Regions from separate parts of the Homo sapiens genome. Here region 2 is linked to region 1. Evidence: promoter capture Hi-C in 16 types of primary human blood cells and fetal thymus (Javierre and others, 2016). All regions are on one chromosome and are shown on one strand. The core of a region is centred on a gene start or on the middle of the fragment in contact, and the rest is flanking DNA. Distances in the headings are between cores, read along the strand shown.

Region 1 (6,210 bases), core at 1,878-4,377:
ACTGGCTAGGACTAAGCAGCCACTGGCCCTTCAGGTCAGCATCCACGTTCCCAATTGTCACACTCCCTGCTTCCCTTGTTGGGCCATCAGCGGGAGGGCAGAGTGTGTTTTATTCACATCAATGGGAGGACAGAGTGTGTTTTACTCACAGCACTTAACAGGGTGCGTTCGGCAGTCCAGATGCTCACATTTCCTTGCTCGCCAACTTCTAGAACCCGGTCTGTCCCTTCTGCAGCATCATCCCCTACGACTCCCCTGCCTGTGCCTGGCGTTGCTCCCGTGCTGGATGACTTGCAGTTTTCTAAACACCTCACATGTGCTCAGACCAACGTGCTCCGCCATGCCGATCCTCCTGTTCCCTGCAAACCCAAATCAGCCTTCAGGGCTTCAGCAGCGTTGAGTCACGAAGCATCCCTCAGCAACCTCCCGCTGAGCACCCACAGGATTGGTGGCACTCTGCTCACCTTCCCTGGTGGGTACACCCCTCTAGAGGCGGCTCCCGGAAAAAGAATCTGTAACTATTCATTTTTTAACTTCCAGAGTCAGGCACGAAGTTATACCTAGCAACGGATCCCAGAAGGGGTCCTGGTGGTGCTGTCAACATGGAAATTTTAAAGGTCACATTTTTTTTTCCTTGAATTTCTTTTCAAATTTTCGTTGAGTTTTCCTTTTCAAATTTTAGGTGAGCTTCTTGCGACATGATGTTTACACTCTCAGAAGAATGAGGGGTTTTGCCTCTGTCTTGCTATATCACAACTTATGTCTTTAGAAACTATTTCATACTTCACACACCAAGACACTCCAGCGATGTTCTTTAGCAGAGGCAAGTAAGGAGTTTAGCATATAGAGAAAATAAAGCAGAGGGAAAAGTGTTACTTCTATAGTGTAAGGTGCATTCACGGTATTTTTCTCCCGAGTTGAGGCTGTAAACATCTATTTCTTGTTTTATGGCTCCATCTGCTGGCAGGTCTCAGAATGTCTTTCTCATCAACACCTTAAATCCTTGGAAAAGTTATGTTCACATTGTATTCCAAAAGGCACCATTTAGTTTTTACAAAGCGAAAGCCTTTGGAAAGCTATTTTTCTTTCAAACTACTGGCTTCCAACGCCTTTTGGCCTCGCCCCAAATTTATTAGCCTTCTCTGAGCATAAGAATAACTTGATGTTACTTCTTGAAATTCCTTGCACCCGTCCCAGACCTCCTGGAATCAGCGTGATCTGGGAGTCTGTATTATTTGGAAGTTCCCTCAGTGGATGCTTACACTCAGGCTAGTGTGGGAAACGCTGACATCTAACCTGCCCCTTTCATGGCACAGATGAGACGTAGGATTTGGGAAGGTGGCTTGGGGAGCCTTCAGCCCTCTCCAGCCCCCGATTCCCAGGCATGCGCTTTTAAGTATGAATAATAAGCAATATGTAGGCCGGGCTCTGTGGCTTATGCCTGTAATCCCTGCACATTGGGAGGCCAAGATGGGTGGATCACTTGAGCCCAGAAGTTTGAGACCGGCCTGGGCAACATGATGAAACCCTCTTTCTACAAGAAATACAAAAAAATTAGCTGGGTGTATTTCTCGTATTTCTACAAGAAATACAAAAAAATTACTACAGGTGGCACACACCTGTAGTACCAGCTACAGGGGAGGCTGAGGCAGGAGGATCACCTGAGCCCAGGAGGTCGAGGCTGCAGGGAGCCATGATCCCACCATTGCACTCCAGCCTGACAGAGCCAGACCCTGTCTCAAAACAAAACAAAGAACACAAAATTATGTGGGCATGGTGGTGGGTGCCTGTAGTCGCAGCTACTCAGGAGGCTGGGAGACGGAGGTTGCAGTGAGCCAAGATCCTGCCACTGCACTCCAGCCTGGGCGACAGAGTGAGACTCCGTCTCACAAAAAAAAAAAAGGAAAAGCACTATGTTTACCGTATAAATGCAGTTTTAAAACCTGTCTGCAGAGGCGACCCTATTTCTACTACCTCCTACAATCATGTTTATAGTTATGGAACATAACAGGTCAGGCAGTTAGTGAGCCTCAGTCCCACTTCCACCTTGACAAATAAACCTGTTCTATCTTACAATATTTCCGGTTGTTTTGTGGCTGTTGACTTTGCCTCCATGAGGAAATTAACTCCTATGGAGGGCACCTAGCTCGGCGTAGACCCGGTCGCTACCACCTGCGATGCCTTGGAAATGCAGCCGGCGGGGCCCACCTGTGGAGCCTGCAGACCGGAATCTCTGGTCTGTGTCCTAACCAGCCCTGCAGGTGATCCCCCGCAGGTGAAGGCTGAGAACCCCTGCGGTCCACGTTGGCATGCACCCAAGGCACAAGTCATTGAAAGCTAAATTTCCAGGTAACGGCCTCCTGGCACCTTAGACTTGCATTGCAGTTTTATTTTCTTTGGGGTCAAAGTTCAAATCTCTGTGTGCTGAGTGAAAGAGCTTCCGACGTTAAAGGCCAGACCAAGATCGAGTCCACTGCTACAGTAGGGCGCTCGGTGCCCACGTGGGCACCATTTCGAAGTCTATGGAGGGTCTACTTCGTGCGCCGCCGCCCAGTTCCACGAGCTAGTAGGGAACTGGCCCGACCCCGTGTCCGCCTGCAGGGGGCTGGCACTGGGGGAACTGCAGGAGTCAAGCCAGGGAAGGCCGGGGGTCTGGGCGAAGCAGAAGAGGAACAGGGCGGGGCCTGGGTGGGGCTGGCCGGGGCCTGTGGGGAGGGGGCAGGGCACGTGTTGGGTGTCTGGGCGGGGCCAGGCGGGGTCTTGGGGGGACAGGGGCGGAGCCTGTGGGGCGGGGGCGGGGCCTGTGGGGGCCTGGGCGTGGCGTCTAGGCAGGGCCAGGCGGGGTCTTGGCGGGATGGGGGCGGGGCCTATGGGGAGGGGCCAGGGCATGTGCGGGGTGTCTGTCCGGGGCCAGGCGGTGTCTTGGGGGGCCAGGGGCAGGGCCTGTGGGGCGGGGCGGGCCTGGCTTGTTGGGCCTGTGCCGGGTGTCCGGGAGGGGCCAGACGGGGTCTTGGAGGGGCGGGGCCGGGGCCTGTGGGGCGGGGCTCCTCTGGTCCCGCCCCGGCCACATCAGAAACCGCCGTTTGCGGGGCAGCCAATGAGGGCGTGGCGCGCGCCGCTTTCCGCCGTTACTGGGCGTATGGCGTACAGACACGAGGCCGGCGCCCGGGAGGCGGTGTTCATCCGCCCGGGAAAAGAGCGCCTGTTGCTCGCTGCCCGCGTGTCCCTGGCTCTCTCGGGAACCCAGCGCCGAAGGCGAGGTGGGCGCGGGCCGAAGGAGGTCCTGGGAGGTCGGCGGCGCGGAGGGATCTCCGCGGGAGCCGTTGGGGCTGTTGGCCTCGGGCTGAGGTGCAAGGACCAGGACTAGGGCGAGGGCAGCGGTCCAAGGTGCGGGGCCAGGCTGAGGTGCTAGGTGTGCGGGGGCCGGGATGCGGGGGCGGCGGCTGGGGGTCCGGGATGTGGAGGTGAGGCTCGAGGTGCGGGGACCGGGTTGCGGGGGCGAGGTCCCAGGTGCGGGGGATGCAGGAGCCGGGTGCGGGGTCGAGGTCCCAGGTGCGGGAGATGCAGGAGCCGGGTGCGGGGGCGAGGTCCCAGGTGTGGGAGATGCAGGAGCCGGGTGCGGGGGCGAGGTCCCAGGTGCAAGGGATGCAGGAGCCGGGTGCGGGGGCGAGGTCCCAGGTGCGGGAGATGCAGGAGCCGGGTGCGGGGGCGAGGTCCCAGGTGTGGGAGATGCAGGAGCCGGGTGCGGGGGCGAGGTCCCAGGTGCGGGAGATGCAGAAGCCGGGTGCGGGGGCGAGGTCCCAGGTGTGGGAGATGCAGGAGCCGGGTGCGGGGGCGAGGTCCCAGGTGCGGGGGATGCAGGAGCCGGGTGCGGGGGCGAGGTCCCAGGTGTGGGAGATGCAGGAGCCGGGTGCGGGGGCGAGGTCCCAGGTGCGGGGGATGCAGGAGCCGGGTGCGGGGGCGAGGTCCCAGGTTTGGGAGATGCAGGAGCCTGGGGTGCAGGGGCCGGGGTGCGGGGGCGATGTATCAGGTGTGGGGGGTGCGGGGCCGGGGGGAAGCGCTGAGGCCCGACTTGCCGGGGCTGTAGGGCCGGGGTGCGGGGGTGCAGGGGCCGGGGTGCGGGGGCGAGGTCCCAGGTGCAGGGGCCGGGGTGAGAGGCTGAGGCCTGAGTTGCCGGGGGTGCGGGGGCGGAGGTCTCCGCATTGGCGGCCGTGCGTGAGACTGCGGGGACCTGAGAGCTCTGCAGGAGGGCCTTCGGGACCTCCCGCACTACCCACGCGGCCGCGGGGCGCGATCTCTGCGGAGGGCGAGGGCCCCTTCCCGCGTCCGCCGCCGCTGCGCTGCGCCCCCGGGAGCCTTGGGAGCCGGACGTTGGGAAGAGGACGGAACTCCGGAGGACCCCAAGTGAGGCGGCGACCGCGACGGCCGGGCTCTGCGAGGCCCGGGGGTCCTCGCGGGTGCTGGCGGCCCGGCCCTTGGCACCTGTGGAGGGAAAGGGGCGGCGGGGCGGTGGCGTCCTGGGATGGATGCTCTCGCCGTCTTCAGCCCCGGCGGCCTCCAGGGCAAAGCCGGCTGCACCCCTGCGCAGCCTGTTCTCTGAGCGCTTTTCTTTTCGTTTTTAAGTTGTGGCCAGAGAGACCCCGCTCGCATAGAATGTACCGCTCAACGGTTTTTAGGCGTGTGGCGCGGTGGTGGTTCCCACGTGCACGGCGTGGTCCTGAGCTCAGCGCCGGAGGGACGTTAGGTGGAAGCGTCTTTGGCAGAGCTGGTAGCGAATCGGAGAGGTGATTTCCAGCGAGTGTGGTTATTGGAAGCACACACTTGCTTTCTGACTTTAAGAATTCAATATCCAGACTGAGGTGGTTTTGAAACTGGAAGGAGATAAAGCTGAAAACCAGAGTTGTGCTGGGAAACCTGGACGTAGAGCGCTGAGCCCCCCAGGTATTTAGTGACCAGCACAGCGCGCCGCCGTGGGTTTCAGGCCCTGGAGATGATGAGAATCAGCTGGAGGGCTGCTTCCAGTCGGCTTCTAACTCGGGAGGGCTGAGAGCCGCTCCCCACCCCGTAATTTCTGTTCCCAGCCAGTCCAGATGCTGCCCGTCAGGGACCAGGCTTTGAGAACTGACGTGCTGCTTTAGGAATATTTCCTGCTGGAGATGAGAGTTCAGCTTGTCACTGTTTTTTAATCACTGTTTCACACCGTTGTTTGTAAGGTGTCAAGCGACGGACTGGGTGCAAAGGCATCAATTGTGATTCGCAGCCTAGTTGGAGAAGCTATGGAGTGCAGAGATGTGGGGAGGGAGAAAACAGGTTACCATGTAGTAGGGTGACCGTGGTCACGCCGGGGAAACGGCTTTCGGAGAAGGGAGCAAGGGATGGCCTGCGAGCTGGTCCTTAAGCGGTTCACTGGATTCTTGTGGTTTCAGAGGAGGGTGAGGCTTTGTTAGCAGAGGGTGTGCCACGGTGTAGGGTGAGTCACGGAATTGATAGTGATAGGAAGCAAGTTGTGTTTGCTGGAGTCTCAAGCGGATGCTTTCAGATTGATTTGTAGATCAGCAGTCCCCAGTCTTTTTGGCACCAGGGACCGATTTCCTGGAAGACAATTTTTCCACGGACCGGTGAGGGATGGTTTCGGGATGAAACGGTTCCACCTCGGATTATCAGGCATTAGATTCTCATAAGGAGCAGGCAGCCCAGACCCTTGGCACGCCGACTTCACAGTAGGGTTCTCACTCCTAGGAGAATCTAATGCCTCCACTGATCTAACAGGAGGTGAGCTCAGGCTGTCCTGCTCACTCACTGCGGCTCACTTCCTGCTGTGTGGCCTGGTTCCGGTACAGGTCCATGGGGCGTGGGGGTTGGTGGTGGTGGTTGGGGGAGGGGGGGTGGGGGGAGGGGGGTTGGTGGTGGTGGTGGTGGTGCTGCTGCTGCTGCTGGGGACGCTGCCTGTAGATTATCAGTAAGAGACTTTCATGCGCCAGTATGCCCCGTGTGTAAGCCGAGCATGCATACGTAATCATTGTCATGATGCGCACATTATAAAATAAATACAAAGCAGTTTAAAATGAGATTTAAAATTAGTTGTAATATGCTGGCACCTCAGCGGATTATCCTGTGTAAACTCCTTTGGAAATTGCTGATTTAGAGTCATATTGTAAGGGGTCTTATACAATGAATATTTGCTTTAATCCTGTAAAATACAATAGGAAG
Region 2 (6,279 bases), core at 1,659-4,158, 5.2 Mb before region 1:
AGCCCCATCACTGGCTTCCCTCAGTCTCCCACTTGTGGATGGCCTCTTATGAGACTTTTTCACCTCCACAATCAAGTGAGCTGATACCCCTAATAAATCCCTTTGCATAGCTTTCGTTCTGTATATCTTTTTTTAAAAAAATTATTTTTATTTTTGGTAGAGACAGGGTTTCACCATGTTGTCCAGGGTGGTCTCGAACTCTTGACCTCAGGTGATCTGCCCACCTTGGCCTCCCAAAGTGCTGGGACTTATAGGTTCTCTGTCTTTCTGGAGACTCTGACTAAAACACCACCTTTCTTAATTAGGCTGCTTTTTGCTGAAAGTAACGGATGTCCAAATAGCAGTGTTTAAACAATGCAGTTTATGAGCTCAATGCAGAATATCAGCTCAGTGAGTGCCCCTGGCCTTGGGACTGCACTTCTGGGGTGACACATTGGCTCCAGGATGTTGCCAGGATCTGTCTTTCCACTCTCCCACCAGTAGCCATCAGTGGGCACTGTGGTGCCTCATGGGCACAAGAGGCTGCCAGGGCCCTTCCCATCACACTTGTACTCAACAAGCTGCCAAGAAGGAAGAGGGAAGAGGGCAAAAAGGAACTTTGTCTCTCTTGTTTGATCAAGGAAAGTGGTCCTCCTCCAGCTCCTCTTTACATCTCATTGGTCACTCTGACCCCCTTGCCTCTTCCAGAACCGTCCCTGGCTTGAGGGAATGTGGTAGGCTGAGACCTGTTAGGATTCTGACCCCGTCCCCAGGGCTGGGCATGTTGCCACTCAAACAAATAGGGAGCCTCTTGGGAAGGGAGACAGGGCTGCTTCTAGTTCCTGGGGGTCTTGGGTTGTGCTGAGGCATGGTGGGTGGAGAAGGGATGGTTGGCTTAACTCATCCATCTTGGTTAACAGACACTGGGGTTGGACTGCTTGGGGTTAAACATGATTCTGCCATTTGCTGGCTGACAGTGCAGCCATGGAAAAATTGCTTCATCTTTCTGTGCTCCAGTTTTCTCAGCCAATAAAATGGTTATGGGATTAAATGAATCAAAACACGCAAGCCCGAAAGAATTGAAAACAGGTGTTCTAACAGAAAATTATACATGAATGTTTACAGCAGCACTATTCATAATAGTGTTTCCAAGGTAGACAGCAACCCAAATGTTCATCAACAGATGATGGACAAACAAACATGTTCTACCCACGCAGTGGAATATTAGTCAGCCATAAAAAGGAGTGAAGCTTTGACAGGGTACGACGTCGATGAACCTTGAAGACACGATGCTGAGTGAAAGAAGCCAGACACAAAAGATCACACACTGTATGATCCCACTTAAATTAGTTAGTGGAGCAGTCAAATTCATAGAGACAGAAAGTAGTCTGGTGGGTGCTAAGGGTGGAAGGGAGGGGAGAATGGGGAGTGATTGGGTACCAGGTTTCTGGTTGGGTGATGAAAAAGTTCTGGAACTGGAGAGTGGTGATGGTTGCATAGCACTGCGAATGTACTAAGTGCCACTGAATTGTACACTTTAAAGTGATTAAAATGGTAAATTTCATGTTATGTGCATTTTACCACCATTAAAAACCAACACACGTGCAAACTGCTTCGAGCAGTGTCTGGTATGTATTCAATGATGCATCATTATTTATTATTATCATTATTATTTGTTATTAGTCTTGTTCTGCTCTAGCACACTTTACACTTGCTCCAAAATCCCATCCCGATGGTGCCTTCACCCCTGGCTGCCACCTCACACCCTTCCCAGCCCCTGCCGGTCCAGGAATCATTTTATCCTGGGAAGCCAGGGGTCAGAGCTCTTCAAGGTGCTTTCTGCTCAAACACACCAGAAAGCCATTTCTCCCCTGTGGCCTCCTCCCAGTTGGGAGTGGACCTGGAAGGGAAGTCAAGTCCTTCCTGGTCTGAGTGTTCATGGGCTCACATCCCAGGGCTCAGTGCTTACTGTACTGTCCAGCCCTGAGCTCCTTTCATTCATACATTAATATAACCAGGACTGATTGGGCCACTCTCTGTACATATGATGCTGGGTGGTAGCCACTGTTACGAAGAAGAACAAAGCAGGGGAGGGGACAGAGAGTGATATGGATGACTGCAAGTTGCCATAAAGAGGCTCCTTCCTTCCATCATGGGTCCATATGTCCAGGTGTGCAAGTAACTGATTTCTTGAAATTCTTTATTCTTAGTAAATCCTTGATTACCTGTATAAGTGAGCTTGGCTTCTATTTTGAGAGGCCCCTTTCCCCTACCACTCACCTGTGGTGCAAATGCAATCTAAGTCAATTCTGTGTTCCCTGAACATGCCAGAAACATCGATGTGTGCAATGGACAACAAACAGTCCCAGGCTTTGCAAAGAATTTCAACGGGTGGTCACCACGGCAGCAGCTGCCTGCGTGTTGGCGTTCAAGGGCAAAGGGGTCTGTTATTGCCGCTGCCAGTTGGCTGAGGTGGGGAAACCTCTCTGCCTATTCGCCTCCATCTCACCCCTACCCGCACCCCCACCCTGACCTTCCTTCTGCAGCGCCCTCCAGACCTGCAGTTCCAGTTTCAGCCACGAGATGGCAATGTTGCTCTTCGCCGGTAGCCCGGCGGGCGCGTGGGCTGAGCTGCAGCAGAACTGGGGTGCGGGGACGGACCGGGAGCAATCCGTGCTGGAGGCAGTCTCTTGCTGTGCAGGGGGTGGTGCGGCCTGAGGAAGCCTTGCATGGCTATGCTGGGGCTCGAGGCTGGCTGTTAGTCGAGTCGGCCTCCCCACACTTACAGATCCAGGAGAAGGACAATTCCTGGACTCAGTATCCCATCTATACTTAGGGGGAGATTGTAGGCTGTGTAATTCTTACGGTCCTGCCCAGGCTATGAGGCCAGCAGGCTGGGGGCGAGAGTCTAGGTAGGAGTGAGAGGAGAATTCCGCTCAGCCCTGGGGTCTCCTCGTTACTGCCGCCAGCCTCTCAGATTCCCCCCCGCCCTTCAGAATCCAGGGAGGCTTTTTTCCCCTGCTTATTTCCTCCAGAAACACCCCCTTTAGAGATACAGGCTTAGGGGCATGGTTAATATGCAGAAATCCTCATCCAACCACAAGACAGGCTGAGCCAGGCTGGAATTCTCATCCCTACCCCACGTATGAGCTCAGAGAGGATTAGGGGCTTGTCCAGAGTCACACAGCTGGGGCATGGAAAAGCTACCCTCAAAAGGAGATTCCTCTCTTCAGCGTCTGGCTCAACCACCATCAGCATATTTTAATGGGGAAGTGCCCTTCCCCACTGAAAGGTGCTTTCTTGGAGTATGACCAGGTAGTCCTGAGTGTGGGGTTGGGGGGAAGGCAACTGCCATCTGCCATCACACCTGGGACTGTGTGACCACTGGCTTGGGGACTTGCTGGACTGATTCACAACCCTCTCCAAGCACCGCCACTAAAGCCACAGAATGACCCCTTACCCTGCCAGAAAATGACTTTTATCTTTGGCCACAGTCTCCCAGCCTCACTGACCTGCTTCCTGGTCAAACACACGGTTCACCTTGGCACCAGCACCCCGCGGTCACTCCTGCTGTGGCTCTCCCCTGCTGTCGTCCATTCATTTCTGCTTCACCATCCCCTGCAGAGGCCGGCACACAGTAGGTGCTCAGCTCTGCAGATGCTTATGAACAAGTGAACAGGAAAGAGGTGTTGGGGGCAGCCGGGCACAGAGGACCCTAAGAGAGTCCTGACCACGTCTCCAGGATCATCCTCTTATCTGGGGAAAGGGTCACAGAAAGGGGACAGATGGGCCCCTCGCAAGGCCACCCTAAGCCCGAGGAGACCCCCAATCCCGTCGTCCAGCCTGTTGTATGGCTCTCCACACATTGCAGGCCTTGCCAGGGAGCCCAAAGGGGGCTTGGCCTGGGCATGGGCCCCTTGTAAAGGAAGCCGATTAACAGCCACGGGAAAATCCCTTTACGTCTCCTAATTAACCTGGGCTGGAGACTCACCACCTGCCCCTGGCTTTCTTCCTTCTTTTATCTAGGAAGAACTGAGTGCTGCCTCTGCTAATGAGCTTGTCTGTACTAATCAAGCAGGTGCCCTGTCCCCCATCCCCTCTTGGCAGCCGGGAGTGGGGAGGATTGTCCTTCTGATGTGAGCTCTGGGCCCGCAGAGGAAAATCAGATCTATCATAATAATGGCCATGATGATGAGAATGATAATGTTGACACTGACTCCTTTAAATGAGTTCCGACTTCCTAGGTCAGGGGCTTTGTATGTGTTATTGGGGACACCAGGTGATGTGCAATGCCTTCCATCTCTCAGATGAGAAAACTGAGGCTCAGGGAGGAATAAGGGACTCGCCCCAGCTTGCACAGCTAAGGAGCGGCAGAGCTGGGATTCTCAGCCAAGACTCCATGACTCCAGAGCCTTCCCCAAATCTGTCTTTTCATCACCCCACGCTGCCTTATTGACCATTTTCAAAGAGTTTGACCCACTTTTTCATGGAAAACTGAGATGGCAGAGCAAGTGGCTGGTGTGGTGGGGGCTGGGGCGGAGCCAGGACTCCAAGCCACCCTCCCAGGTGGGCAACCCCCCATATCCCCTGTCCTCCCAGCGTGGTGGGGAAGCTTGAAGGCATCTGAGCGCTGCTGGAGGCTCCCCCACATGCTCCCAGCATGACTCATTCATTCGGCTTAGCCCCCCGTGGCTTTGCCCTGGTTGGGGGTGGGGCGCCCAGGAGGATCAGTGGTTTCTGGGATAATAGGTACTGGGGCTCCGTGTGACCTGTGACCTCCCTCCGCACTCTGGCTGCGTCCCTGCCCCTGGATGGAAGAATTCGACCACCTAGTACCCGGCCCTGCGCAACACCTCCGCTCCGTCACTGCCTGACCCTGCGCTGGGAACTCATTCCCGGGACCGCCAGGGAATCTGCCCTTCCCAGGAGAACTCCTGGCTGCCTCCGCGTGCTCCTAGGGCCTGCGCGAAATGGGAAGGCGCATCCTCTAGCCTGGGTAAATAAGGGACCCTGCCTCACCCGGGTGGCCATCCCCAGGCCGCCTTCGCTGTGTTTCAGGTCACCGCACCCAGCCTGCGCACCCCTAGCCCCCATCCCGGTGCCGTGCAGAGGCTCTGCACACAGCCTCGGCCTCCCGGAGGCCCTCCCCTCTCTCCTCTCCCCTCTCCCACAGGCACTCCCTAGCTGTGCCACATTTAACCCGGGACCTCCTGTCCGCGCTCAGTCTTGCAGTCTCTGGCCCCGGCAGACACCACCTCTCCAGAGGTCGCTGCCCCATCCCGGTGACCCTCCGCTGGCCTCCTCACCCCTCGACCTTGGCAACTCCTACCGCTGCGCCCCAAGACGCCGGATCTAGCTGGGCATCCCCTCTCTGCATTGCGCACCCCTCCCGCAGCCCCTGTACCCGCGAGCGCCCGCGACCCCCGGCGGGCTCCCGGAGCCTCCCGGCCGGGCGCCCTCCCCCGAACCGCCGAGCAGTGGCGCGTCCCGCCGCCTACTGGCCGGGCTGCCGCCTGTGCCCCGGCTCCCGGGCGGCCCCTCCCCCGGCCGCGGCCCCGCCCTCCGCTCCTCTCCTCCTCCTCCTCCTCCTACTCCTCCTCCTCCTCCTCCTCCCCCCGGCGCTCGCTCGCTCGCTCACTCTCTCGCTGGCTCGAGGGGCGGCCGGCAGATGGCGATGGCAGAGGCGGCGGCGGCGGCGGCGGCGCGACCGGGATGGGACGGGCGCTGGGGCGCAGGAGCCGCGGCGGCGGCGGCGGCGGGGGCCGCGCAACTCGGGCCAACTGCGGGGCAGCCGGCCAGGGCGCGGGGCGCTGAGCCTCGGCCGCCCCAGCTCCCCAGCCACGCACGGCCGAGCCCAGGAGAGCGCGCAGAGGCGCAGCCGAGGAAGCGCCGCCAGCGCCGGCGCATGCGTCTGGGGAGGAGCGGCGCGCTGGGAGCGAGCCATGCCCGGCGCCCGGGCGTAGCCGCCGGGGGCTGCTCCGGGAGCCGCGGGCCGGGCCGGGCGCGCGAGAGGAGCAGCCCCGCGCCGCACCCACCGCGCGCCGAGGACCATGCCGCCCCCGGGCCGGGCGCCGCCGCTCGGGCTCCTGCTGGCGCTGACTGCGCTCCAGTGCCCAGGTAACGCGTCCCCGGACCCCATCCCCGACCCCGGCCGAGGCGCACAAAGTTGGGTGAACGGGCGGCTACCTCCTTCTCAAGTCCCTGGCAGCGCGCATCTCCCGGACTTGGACAGACCTGGGGAGACCCTGGGAACCCAGGAGCCCCCGGCGCGTTCCCCTTTGCCTAGCGCCTGGGGAGAGC

The links. The method cuts DNA at HindIII sites, captures the fragments that hold promoters and counts their contacts. A CHiCAGO score of 5 or more calls a contact.
Region 2: a contact is called between a fragment that was not itself captured here and the fragment with the promoter of PIWIL1 in region 1, in 1 of 17 cell types (total CD4 T cells). The highest score is 9.8, in total CD4 T cells.

What each region holds. Positions count from the first base shown.
Region 1 is chr12:130,334,760-130,340,969 of GRCh38, forward strand. It overlaps PIWIL1 (piwi like RNA-mediated gene silencing 1), which reads left to right and starts at 3,128. Exons shown (of 21, transcript NM_004764.5): 1 at 3,128-3,387. LOC101927786 (a long non-coding RNA gene) reads right to left here and starts at 1,481. Exons shown (of 3, transcript XR_242978.5): 1 at 150-1,481. RefSeq lists an enhancer at 252-421. The HindIII fragment of the contact is 10,112 bases long and covers 1-6,210 here.
Region 2 is chr12:125,180,771-125,187,049 of GRCh38, forward strand. It overlaps TMEM132B (transmembrane protein 132B), which reads left to right and starts at 5,616. Exons shown (of 9, transcript NM_001366854.1): 1 at 5,616-6,096. The coding sequence starts at 6,030. RefSeq lists an enhancer at 4,817-5,350 and a silencer at 5,399-5,608. The HindIII fragment of the contact is 3,362 bases long and covers 1,228-4,589 here.